Regions from separate parts of the Homo sapiens genome. Here all the other regions are linked to region 4. The links are contacts of gene promoters, found by promoter capture Hi-C in blood cells and fetal thymus (Javierre and others, 2016). All regions are on one chromosome and are shown on one strand. The core of a region is centred on a gene start or on the middle of the fragment in contact, and the rest is flanking DNA. Distances in the headings are between cores, read along the strand shown.

Region 1 (2,840 bases), core at 341-2,840, 540 kb after region 4:
ATGCCTGTAATCCCAGCTACTTGGGGGGCTGAGGAAGGAGAATCGCTTGAACCCAGGAGGCAGAGGTTGCAGTGAGCCGAGATCACACCATTGCACTCCAGCCTGGGCAACAAGAGCGAAACTCCATCTCAAAAAACAAACAAACTTCAAAATCTCTAAATTTGGTCATCATTATTTGAAGAAAAGAAAATCTTCTGGCCGGCGCAGTGGCTCACGCCCATAATCCCAGCACTCTGGGAGGCCGAGGTAGGCGGATCTCAAGGTCGGGAGATCGAGACCATCAGGCCGAGGTGGGCAGATCACGAGGTCAGGAGATTGAGACCATCCTGGCTAACATGATGAAACCCCATCTCTACTAAAAATACAAAAAATTAGCTGAGCGTGGTGGTGGACGCCTGTAGTCCCAGCTACTGGGGAGGCTGAGGCAGGTGAATGGTGTGAACCTGGGACGCAGAGCTTGCAGCGAGATTCCGTCTCAAAAAAACAAAAAAACAACAAAAAAAAACAACAAAAAAATAACTTCAGGTAAGCCCACAGATCTTAGCTAACAGCAAGAGGAATTTTTAATAATCTGCTTGAATGTTGATATCTTTTCCAGCCTTCTCTCTCCTTAGGCCAATTATTTAGAAAACTGTATAATAATTAATCCATATGCAAATTTTAAACTATAGCTCAAAAACTTTATTGGCTACTGTAAATTACTACGAATTTTCCAGTGTAGGGTATGGCAAATATTGAATAAGTGCCTCATATGTGAAAGAGCTGGTGCTCAGCACTGATTTTTCAAGAGCAAACTTAAGAAATGAATAAAGTTGTAATGTGTATACACGCACATTATACAACAGCATAGGACTTCTTTGTGTTACTTGTAAAAGGAAAGGTTTTCACTTTCCTCATTATGAATTCCAAAAATTCAAAAACTGTTTTTCAAAATTTTGACTGCTTTCATTACACGCATAATGCTTCCACACTCTTCATTCCTACTCTTTTCAGCAGATAAACATTCTCCTCTTTCCATTAGCAACCAATCCAAGCTTATTATCTTTCTTTTTAGAGGCAAACTGCAACATATCATTTCAATTAAACCCAAAATATTACTCCCATATTTCTTATGCAAAGGTCTTAGGAATAAGCCTCAGCTTCTCACAGAAGATGAAATCATCTATCAACATATGTAACTGATGTTTCTCATTTTATTTTCATTTTGAGATTTTGTACCTACTGTCTAGTGATAAACTTTTGCAACTGTTTCCTCTATATTTTAGATGGCTTAGGCTTTAAAAAAATGGTCTATATGATTTAATTATCAATTTTTTCCTTAAGTGAAGTTCAACAGAATTAATTTTCTCACATTTTCATTAATTATACAGGCTACAGGCAATATTTAAAGTTTTTTTTTAAATATTGGGTATGTTACTCATTTTGTTACTCTATGACTTTCAATTCCTGAATATAAAATAATAAATTTTAAATGACTAAATTTTATTTATTCACTGATTAAATCAGATTTATGACCTCCTCTCTCCATTCCAGCTACTCTGAGTTTTGAATGAAACAACCTCAATTGTAACAGAAGAAACATCTGTTGCTTTTTTTCTTCACCAGGGCTTTCCTAACTGAAAGAAGAAAGACTCTCTGCCTGACCTCCTCTCCCTCTCCCTCTCCCTCTCCCACTCCCGCTCCCCACCCACACTAAGTTCCTTAAAACTTTTTTAAGTAAATGTATTATTTAAAATTTCACTGTATCTATTAAAAACATCATAGTTTAGAAACATTCACTTCCTTATTGAACTTCAAAGAATGACTAAATGCTATTATATATCAAAAAATAAGACGTGTCTAATAGAATATACGTTGTAACTAAAATGCAAACTTCAAGGGTATAATTGAAATGATCAATTCAATCAAGTTGTCATATATTCCGGGGTCATTAAGAATTGTTTAGGGGTAAGATTTTCTTCACAGTATCCAGATTCATATAGCATCTTGTATGCTATATTTTCTTTGCCAGTCCAAGGCTAACATAATGGCAGTCACTACCCCAAGAGGCAGACACCAAATGGTGCCACCCACACTCTCACACTGTGCCTCATAATAAACCATAAAGCAGTGGAATGCACCGGCCCCTTTATGAGCAAACAATGCCTAAGCTTCATTAGAATACAGCTGACATTTTCAAAGCACAAATACTTTTAAGAAAAATGTACTAGGGAAAAAAAGGAATGAAACAGCTATAAAAGCTGAAATATTTTTCAAGTGTCAGGTTGATTTCCAAGGATCCTTGGGAAGTATATTTTGCTGTTGGCAATTTAAAAGTTTTCGTAAGTGGAAAAAATGTTTAGTTAAGGGCAAAGCTTATTTTATTAACTACTGGGGAAAAAAATGAAAGTAAAAACTATCCTTTGAATTGCTTTCACAAGTAATAACCATGAAGTACCTTTAAAATTACTGATTTCCTCAACTGCTGCTTTAGTTCCTGAATTAAGAAAACTGAGCTCCAGAATTATTTTCACATTTTAATTAATTTATATAAGTAACTGAGTAATAAACTAATTCTTCCCCTCCCCCCCCACCCCAACCCCCATACATAACCCTGTAGTTTTTCTGTCTGCAACAAGCAAGGACGTCTTGAAATCAGCGTGCTCCTGGCTATTTATCAATTTAATATTGCTGCTGCTTAAAGAATATAAAATAAGAGCTGTAAAAACTCACCCAGCAGTGAGAAACAAACTGATCTCTCTTACCTGGTCTAAGGAAGCATGCCTCTCACTGCAGTACCAACAACATTCTACAGTCTTTGTTACCATTCAGTGGAAACTTGAGACTGTGTCAGACGTAAG
Region 2 (2,771 bases), core at 234-2,733, 540 kb before region 4:
AAACATGTAAATATAGGTTTTCTGGTTTAAGAACAGGAATGGGAGGTGTTTGTAGCATCTAAACACACAGATTAGGAGCTCCATCCCCTCCCCCCCAGTCTAGCATATGTAGTTAGAGTATTAAATGAGATATGGTATGTAGGATTTGATACAAGATAGGTGCTCAGCCGTATAATTTCTCTTCCTTTGCATCTCATCTTGATTTTATTTTTATATGTGGTTACATAAGTGAGTTCAGTAAAACACACCTTATCTTTTTAAAGGAAGCCCAGTATATTTTAAAAGAACCAAGAGTAACCTTTCACAGAGTATTTAATCTTAGGCAAGGGTTTTCCGAATATGGAGCCTTTAAGTTGTTTTTCTGATAAGTAGAATTGTAATATTCAAATATGTTTATCGGAATCCCACATTTCTAATAGCCTAGTAGCTGTATTGTTAAACACCAGCACTGGACCTTGGTTCTGGGTGAAATACTCACATGCATAACTCGTGCTTTCTTTAAGACACCCTTTGATCCCATTATGCTTTTGCCAGAGTTAATATTCAGAGTTTGTAAGGTCAGTAGTTAGGTTAATTGAGTTAAGGAACGATATCATGACAGCCTGTAAAAAAGGTGTAAATGTGATTTAATTTTAGCTGTACCTCTAATGTATGTATATAGAGATGAAAGCACTATTAAATGTATTTTTAAAGACTGATAGAATTGTACATTGTCTAGTTATTGTATCAGCTGCATATATCTACAGAGGCAGCTCATTTTTTTTCTATTTGAGGGAGATATTGTCTCAAATAGGAGCTATATACCTTAAGATTTTAAGTGGATGAAGTATTTTCTTTGCAGCTCTTATGACAGATAATTTAATATATGTAGTGAGTAAAATCAAAGATGATCTAAGAACTGTCTATTTTTATATCCTGGAGCTCATTCATTTGCTCAATCATTATTATTTATTCAGTAGGAAATTCCCATTTGGGTATAATGAACGATATTTGTTAAATTATTTCACCTGTTTGCTTGAAGATCAGGGCAGAAGTAGAATACTTAAAAGTATAATTAATGTGATTTATTTCCGCTTCACTCTGACCATATTTTTATTAGTCTCATTTCCTTAATTTTTACTACCTCTCCTTTTCCTCTGTCTTGCTCTGTTTAAGCTGCTATTACAAAATACCAAAAACTGGTGGCTTATAAATAACAAATATTTCTAACAGTCCTGAAGGCTGGGAAGTTCAAAATTAAAGCAGTAACAGGTTTTTTGATGATGGTCTACTTCCTCATAGAAGATACTCTCTTGCTGTATCCTCACGTAGTAGGAGAGGCTAGCCAAGATCTCTGGTGTCTTATAAAGGTACTAATCCCAAATGTCAGGGCTACAATCTCATGACCTAATCACCTTGAAAGCGTCTACCTCCTAATACTATCACCTTGGGATGTGAGTAGGATTTCATCTTACTAGTTTTGGGGGAGACAAACATTCAGACATCCTCCTTCCCTTTTTTTCCTTCTAAAAATGCATTCCGTTCTTCTTACTAATAGACTGCAAAACTAAGGGAAGTTTCTTATCCTGTTGGAGAATATTCTCAAATCATTTTTCTATAAATGAATTACTGTAGCACAGCAGCTACCATTTTTCTGCAAATGGATTAGTGTAGCACAACATTGTGGGTCAGGGATTCTCCTTCTTGAGACCCTTGTTGTGGTCTGAGAGTTTAAAACTATTTTCATAAAAATACATTATTGGCACAAATTTGTTGACATTTGTCCTGATGGTGCAAAAGCAATGATGGGTAAAACTGCTGATGCCTTAGCATGCATGAAGGCAGTGGCACCAGACTGTAGTCATCGTATTCACCTCCAGGTACTTGCAATTAAAAAAAAAAAAAAAAGCCAGTTTAACCTAAGAATGCTCATGAAGGAGTAAAAATACTAATTTTATTAAATCACAACCTTTGAATACCTCTATATTTAATATTTTGTGTGACAAAATGGGAAATAGACATGAAGTAACTGTATGCCGAAGTGTGGTTCTGCGTTGTTTCAATTGCAGGCTACACTAGCTTCTTTTTTTCATGGAGTCAGCCATGGGTAAAAAAGTCATTCAGATTTTAAAATAGACCAGTGGATTTTAATATAACAGTATGAAAAGTTTACTGGTATAGTTCAGATTCTACATTTCAGCTAACCTTTAAGAACCTACCACTTGTCTGGTTGTAATATAGTATTGAAGAATATCGACAACCGGACAGCAAGACAAGGGACTGTCTTGTCTAGTAATTGTTATCATTAACTAGAAGGCATTAAGTGCTGTGGGAAAAAAAATGGTGCACCTTAAAGGACTGTGGTAGGAGTGCACTCTAGTACTAAATCGAATGATGATGAATCTTACTGAGATGACATTTGAGTAAAGACTTGGAAGGGAGAGAATTAGCTATACAAAAGGAACTAGCCCCAGTAAGACCCTAGCCCTGGTAAGAGTGAGATAATGAAGCAGGTATGGCCAGAATGATAGAGCCTTCTTAAGCCTTTAAAGGACTTTGACCTTTTCTATTGAAATGGGAGGAGTCATAGAATTTTTAAAGGCTAATTGGTCTCTGCTAGACTATGCGTGGGACAGGGGCAGAAGTAGGGAGTTGATCAGGCTATTTCAATAATCCACTTGACTGATAATGGTGATTCAGACTAGGTTGGAAGCAATGGACATTGTGAGAAGTGGTTGAATTCTAGTTAGACTTCGAAGGTAAAGATAATAAGATTTTTGACATATTGAATG
Region 3 (3,009 bases), core at 368-2,867, 850 kb after region 4:
TGCTTTTATTCCAGGTTTTGTTTTTGTTTTGACAGAGTTTCGCTCTTGTTGCCCAGGCTCGAGTGTGATGGCGTGATCTTGGCTCACTGCAACCTCCACCTCCCGGGTTCAAGCGATTCTCCTGATTCAGCCTCTGAAGTAGCTGGGATTACAGCTACTTGGTGGCGCCTGCCACCACACCCGGCTAATTTTTTGTATTTTTAGTAGAAAGGGGGTTTCACCATGTTGGCCAGGCTGGTCTCAAACTCCTGACCTCAGGTGATCCACCCGCCTTGGCCTCCCAAAGTGCTGGCATTACAGATGTGGGCCAACGTGCCCAGCCAATTCCAGGTTTTGATCTTTAATACGCTTAGATCTGCTTATTCCAAAATGTTTTTGACTTCTCTGAGAAACTTCTGCCCACATCCACTTTTGTATCAGTCATTCTTCCTGGCTGCCTTTAGTAGATCATTATACAGATAAAATGCTAAAGTATAGAGGACATTCAGGGTAGGAACAAATATGGCGGATATTTACTGAAATCCAGTTATGTGCCAGATGTTATGCTATAGGCTTTACAGACTTAAGAGTATGACTCACTTTCCTATATCTAACTCTATTAATGATTTTTAATTGATTTTGTAGATTTTTCTATTTTTACAACAGTTAGGTTATTTTAACATAATATTAATATCAATTATTAGCACCTACAATGTGTTGGACATAGTGCTGTTTTATATTTATACATGTTATATAATTACCACAAGTAATCTGTAATGTATTATTCTTATTTTATAAATAAGAAACAAGATTTCAGAAAAGTTAAATAATGTATTTAAGTTACATGATAATTTTTAAATTACTGAGGACAAAAGCTAGAATGTGCAAACTTTTAAAGGTTTGGATGTCTACAGAATGATTATCTATAACACTACAATTAAGTAATCACAAGAAGACATTTAGTGACTGTAGATCTATTGGTTACATGGTTGTATTATTATTGTTCTTTTTGTTTTTTGAGACAGGGTCTATCTCTGTTGCCCAGGTTAGAGTGCAGTGGCGTGATCTTGGCTCACTGCAACCTCTGCCTCCAAGGCTCAAGCAATCCTACCACGTCAGCCTCCCCAGTAGCTGGGACTACAGGCACACGCCACCACACCTAGCTAACTTTTGTATTTTTTAGAGAGACAGAGTTTCCGCCATGTTGCCCAGGCTGGTCTTGAACTCCTGAGCTTAAGAGATCCGCCTGCCTCAGCTTCCCAAAGTTCTGAGATTACAGGCATGAGCCACACCTGGCCAGTTATATTATTATATAACTGAAACAAATATAAAAATTATAGTTTTAAGAATAAAAGTAGTTTTGGGCCAGGTGTGGTGGCATATACCTGTAATCCCAGCACTTTGGGAGGCTGAAGTGAGAGGATTGCTTGAGGTCAGAAGTTTGAGACCAGCCTGGCCAACACAGCAAGACACCATCTCTAAAATAAATAAATACATTAAAATAAAAGCAGTTTTATCTTTAAAAGTACATGATTAAAAAGAACCAAATGAATTGAATTTTTAAAATGATATTATTGGTAATAGTATTTAGTTTACTTACCTAATTTCTTATTTTGTTTAGGCTGAGAGGGTAATCCATATTCATCTCTTCTGTTAGAGGAAACAGGGATTTCATTAGCAATCTGTTTGATTTCATTCTTATGGTCCACAGTGTTAGAGCCATCAATTTTTAGAATTTCTTTAAGCATCCGTGTTCCCTTCTTTTTGAAAATGATTCACATGGAGATGGTGAGGGTGAAGAGAACAAAGTCAACATTACATCTGTAGAACTTATTGATCTTTCTTGGAAAGAATTCCATTGTTAACAATTAAGACATTAACTACATTCAGATAGAAACTGAAAAAAAAAAACCCAACACCCACATTTCTGATACAGAAACGATACTTATCCTCCTGCTTAACTTTCATCCCAGTTACCTAGTAGCAATGTTTGAAAAGCAGGGGAACTGTGGTCTAAAGAGAAAAAGTATGGCTAAATTGCCCAGGGCAGCCTGGTTTCCTCACAAGATGACAATAATGATGTAACATACCAGCCTCCATGATGGAAGTGTTTGAACACTTGCATGGGATATGTCTGCATGGTCAACAGTCGAGAAATTACCACAGTAAGAAAGTTCCTACAAAATACGAACCATGGCAAATGACTGTGGTGACAAATGCTCTTCACTTGGAGGCTCCCCATGATGAGATGACTGTACTTCATTTTCTTTGGAGATATTCAAAGATGCTAAAAAGTTCTCAATTCCAGAGTTAGGCTAAAAGAATAAATATTTTGGGCATGAAGATGAACGTATAATACAAGAACACACAAAAAGCTGAGTTTTATGTACAAAAATGGTCATTCGATTTTCACTCAATCATCTTCCCAGGTGTTAAAGTTTGGGAAGAGAATTGGAATAAATAGTTTTTTACCTTATCAATAGCATTTGGATAACCAGTCACAACCTTTTGGGTTTCTGAGACTTCTGGACTTTCATTTCTCTTCAATAGCTTAATATTATATTTGGCAGGCCCTTCTAAAGTCTATTAAAAAAGTAAGAATAAACTTTTTGTGCAAATATATTTATAGTTAATATGTAATAGTGTTCTAAATAAATTGTTGCAAAAAAATTTTATGTGCTATTTTCCCTTTTGTATCATAAGAAAAGGGGCCTATAAACTTGGATGGGGAAAATTACACCTTAATCTTCATTAACCTCTCAATGAGATTTAGCATTTCCTGCAATTATGAATATAGGCAACAAAACACTTATATGGTCTGCATGTTTGTATTCCCCCAAAATTCTTCTGTTAAAATCCTAACTCCTAATGGGATCATATTAGGAGGTGGGGCCTTTGGTAGGTAATTAAGTTTAGATGAGGTCTTTAGGGTGCAACATCCATGATGGTATTAGTGTCCTTATATGAATAGAAAGAGAATAGAGCTCTTTCTCTCCATCATGTTAGAATATGAGAAGACGCATCATCTGC
Region 4 (2,967 bases), core at 468-2,967:
AGTGAGCTGAGATCGTGCCACTGCACTCCAGCCTAGGCAACAGAGCAAGACTGTCAAAAAAAAAAAGAAAGAAAGAAAGAGAAGAAACAGAAACAGGTTTAGGAAGGTTGAGTAACTTGCCCAAATGTAAAAGGGGTAGAAACAGGCTCTATGTCTGATTCTAAAAAGGGATGCCTTTAAAAATAAGGGGGAAAAAACCCTGTAACACGTTGATACTCTTTAAATGAGAATAATTTTAACAAGGGCAATGACAGAGAATGGAAAGGAAGGAAGAGATTTCAGCAGAGTCAGAAGGATGTGGCAACTGAAAACAGCATTGGGACAAGGGATAAGAAAAAGTCAAAGTTTCTGGCCTGAGTAACAGTATAAGATGTGAACTCAGATTTGGAAAGGGAGACAGGAAATTAAGTTTTGGACTTATGTTTGAAATGACAGCAAAACATTCATATAAGAGGAAGTGGTTCACTTTATCCAACAAGTGTAAAGATCACATGGGGAAATAGAAGTCACCTGCAACACAGGCAGAACTGGAAGCTTCGCTGGCCAGGTCCATGTTAAACTCTGACCATTCTCTGGGGCTGTCCAGCCTTTGCACAGGCGGCGCGTTTGTCTTCAGTTTTCAGGTTTCCCCGTCCTATTTCTTATCTCCCAGTGCCTCTGGCCTTTTCTGTGTCTCCCTCCAGAATGAGCTGGAGCTCTCTTCATCTTGACCTTTGTGTAGTCTCTGAGGTCTGAGGCCATCACTATGTCTGACCCTCAAAAAATATTTGTTGACTGACTGGCTTATTCCTGTTGTTGCCCTGGAAAAGAATTACCCTGCCCGATTAAGTCACAGTTTCTTCCTTCTTAGGGCAGCGTAGTTAACAACCTCAACACCAGGAAATTGTCTTCCTCATCACATACCAGGGTATTATTCATGCAGTTTACTCACTGTAAAGAGTTCCCTTGAAATAAAGCTAACAATTAGTCAAAGATTTACACATTTCCTAGGGTCAGTCAACTTTTTAACAAAGCCAACTTTTAGTAGTGGTGGCGGTGGCGGGGGGGAGCCCTTCTTTGCTTTTTCTGTTCCTGAAATACAAAAGTGATGGTAAATGCTTCAGAATTTCTCTATGAGAGGGTCTCAGGCACTGCACTCACGCTGGAGTTGGGGGTGGCTGGTCCTTTTCTTGAACCAGGTTTTGCAGAGAATTGGTCCTAGTAAAGAGTATTTGTGTGGGAGGAGTTTGGCTTGCTGGCGGGGAGTATTTGGATAATACTGGAAGAGCCTCAAATGCATCTCTTGCCTCCTTTTGAATAAGATACTTTTGAGGTCCACCCACCTGCCAAATTCCATTCTATTTTCTTCCCACAGGGAGTTTCCCTGATTGGGAAGGGCCTGTATTTCCCGCGAGCGTTAGGAGATGTGCAGGTCTATTCATTGGGGGAGCCCAATTCCCGGGAGGATTTAGGGATCACGGGAGGGCCGGGGCGTTCTCCTGGTGGGGATTTTAAGGCCGCTCAGAGCCACGACTGGGAGCTACCCTTAGCCAGCGCCCCAAGCCGGGAGTACGGTTCTCTGCAGGGTAGCCCGGCTCGGGGGTGGCGAAGGCGGTGAATGGAGACCCGGGGGGGGCGGGGGCGGGGCCGCGGCGGGCGGGGCGGGGCGGGGCGAGTCGGGCCGAGGCCCGGGGGCGGGGCCAGGCGCGCGGCTGGCCTGGGCCTAGGCCGCTGCTGGGCTCCGCCTCGCCCGGCTACGCAGGCGGCAGGGCTGCGGCACGGGCCGGGCGGCACCATGGCGGCGGCGGCGCCTGCTGCTGCGGCGGCTTCTTCCGAGGCGCCAGCGGCGAGTGCGACTGCAGAGCCCGAGGCCGGGGACCAGGACAGTCGCGAGGTTCGAGTGTTGCAGAGCCTGCGGGGCAAGATCTGTAAGCGGGGGCTGGGCTGAGGGGACGCCCTGGCGGCGCTGGGCGCGAGGCTGAGGGGGCGGCGGGTTCGCGGCGGTGGCGGCGCCGAGCTGCGCTGGGATCGCGGGCCCGGGAGGGGGCCTGGGCCGGGCGCGGTTGAGGCTGGAAGGGGGTGTGTTGGGGGGCGGCGTCGCCTCGACGGGGCGGCGTGGGCCGGGGCTGCTGCTCTCCGGAGGGAGTGGGAGCTGGAGATGGGCCTGGGGTGGGAGAGCCCGGGCTGCGCCGGCGTGAGGGGCTCGGTCGTGGGGAGCGGCCTGGACGCGGGGACGCTGGAGTCCGGGGCGCGGCCGGGGGCGCGGTCCGGGGGCGTGAGGAGCTTCCGGCCGCCCTCAGACTCAGGCCTTCGCGCGGCTGCGGGCGCTGGGGAGTGGCCCCGCGGTGGGAGCCGAGCAGTAATTATACGGAGGCGCGGCCCGAGGAGGTGGCGGGCTGGGAAGTGGGGCTGGCCCGAGGGGAGGGGGCTGTTCGTTTCCTGGGCTCGGCGAGCCTGGGAGAGGTTGAAAAAGGCGCCCTGAGCTGCAGGAAACGGGCCGCCCTGGGGCCCGAGTGGCTACCGCGCGGTCTGTTCGCGGGTGAGCGCCCCGGGAGGAGCTCGGCGGGACACCTGTACTTGCCCCACCTCGCTGCGGCCGGGACTTGAATCGAGGGACGGCGTGACAGGCGGGACTAAAGGCAGGATGTAGTGGCTTCCTGTGAGCAGGTCTCAAAACACAATCACCCAGCCCGCACTCAGCCCGCTTAATTCCCTTCCTTCTCATGCGTGTAATTGCTACTTTAGTGAGCGAGCCTACCAGTTGACTAAATACGAAATTTTGCTCAGAGTTGTCCGAGCATTACTGTGGACAGATTATTTGAGTTCTGTCATTTGAACATTTTAGTTTTAAAAACGACCCTTTGGTGTCAGGTTGCCATTTTTTTTTTCACAGTGGTTTATTTAGATGAAGTGCTTTTTGTTTTCTGTTTGTAAGAGAGATCAATAACATTTATTTTTGCATTTGTCGAAAATTAGCATTATTTTCTT

What was found. The method cuts DNA at HindIII sites, captures the fragments that hold promoters and counts their contacts. A CHiCAGO score of 5 or more calls a contact.
Region 1: a contact is called between a fragment that was not itself captured here and the fragment with the promoter of RASA2 in region 4, in 1 of 17 cell types (fetal thymus). The highest score is 6.1, in fetal thymus.
Region 2: a fragment that was not itself captured here is called in contact with the fragment with the promoter of RASA2 in region 4 in 1 of 17 cell types (neutrophils); the score reaches 5.5 in neutrophils.
Region 3: a contact is called between a fragment that was not itself captured here and the fragment with the promoter of RASA2 in region 4, in 1 of 17 cell types (neutrophils). The highest score is 6.1, in neutrophils.

The regions. Positions count from the first base shown.
Region 1 is chr3:142,025,835-142,028,674 of GRCh38, forward strand. The region is part of intron 3 of TFDP2 (transcription factor Dp-2); the gene reads right to left. Among named protein-coding and RNA genes, the nearest start is that of TFDP2, 120 kb to the right of the region's middle. RefSeq lists a silencer at 2,106-2,155 and an enhancer at 2,542-2,840. The HindIII fragment of the contact is 1,116 bases long and covers 1,033-2,148 here.
Region 2 is chr3:140,943,869-140,946,639 of GRCh38, forward strand. The region is part of intron 1 of SLC25A36 (solute carrier family 25 member 36); the gene reads left to right. Among named protein-coding and RNA genes, the nearest start is that of SLC25A36, 3.4 kb to the left of the region's middle. The HindIII fragment of the contact is 4,988 bases long and covers 1-2,771 here.
Region 3 is chr3:142,330,796-142,333,804 of GRCh38, forward strand. It overlaps XRN1 (5'-3' exoribonuclease 1), which reads right to left. Exons shown (of 41, transcript NM_001282857.2): 35 at 2,172-2,294; 36 at 1,580-1,739. Among named protein-coding and RNA genes, the nearest start is that of GK5, 110 kb to the left of the region's middle. The HindIII fragment of the contact is 6,055 bases long and covers 1-3,009 here.
Region 4 is chr3:141,485,310-141,488,276 of GRCh38, forward strand. It overlaps RASA2 (RAS p21 protein activator 2), which reads left to right and starts at 1,718. Exons shown (of 24, transcript NM_006506.5): 1 at 1,718-1,907. The coding sequence starts at 1,775. RefSeq lists a silencer at 1,627-2,506. The HindIII fragment of the contact is 5,296 bases long and covers 533-2,967 here.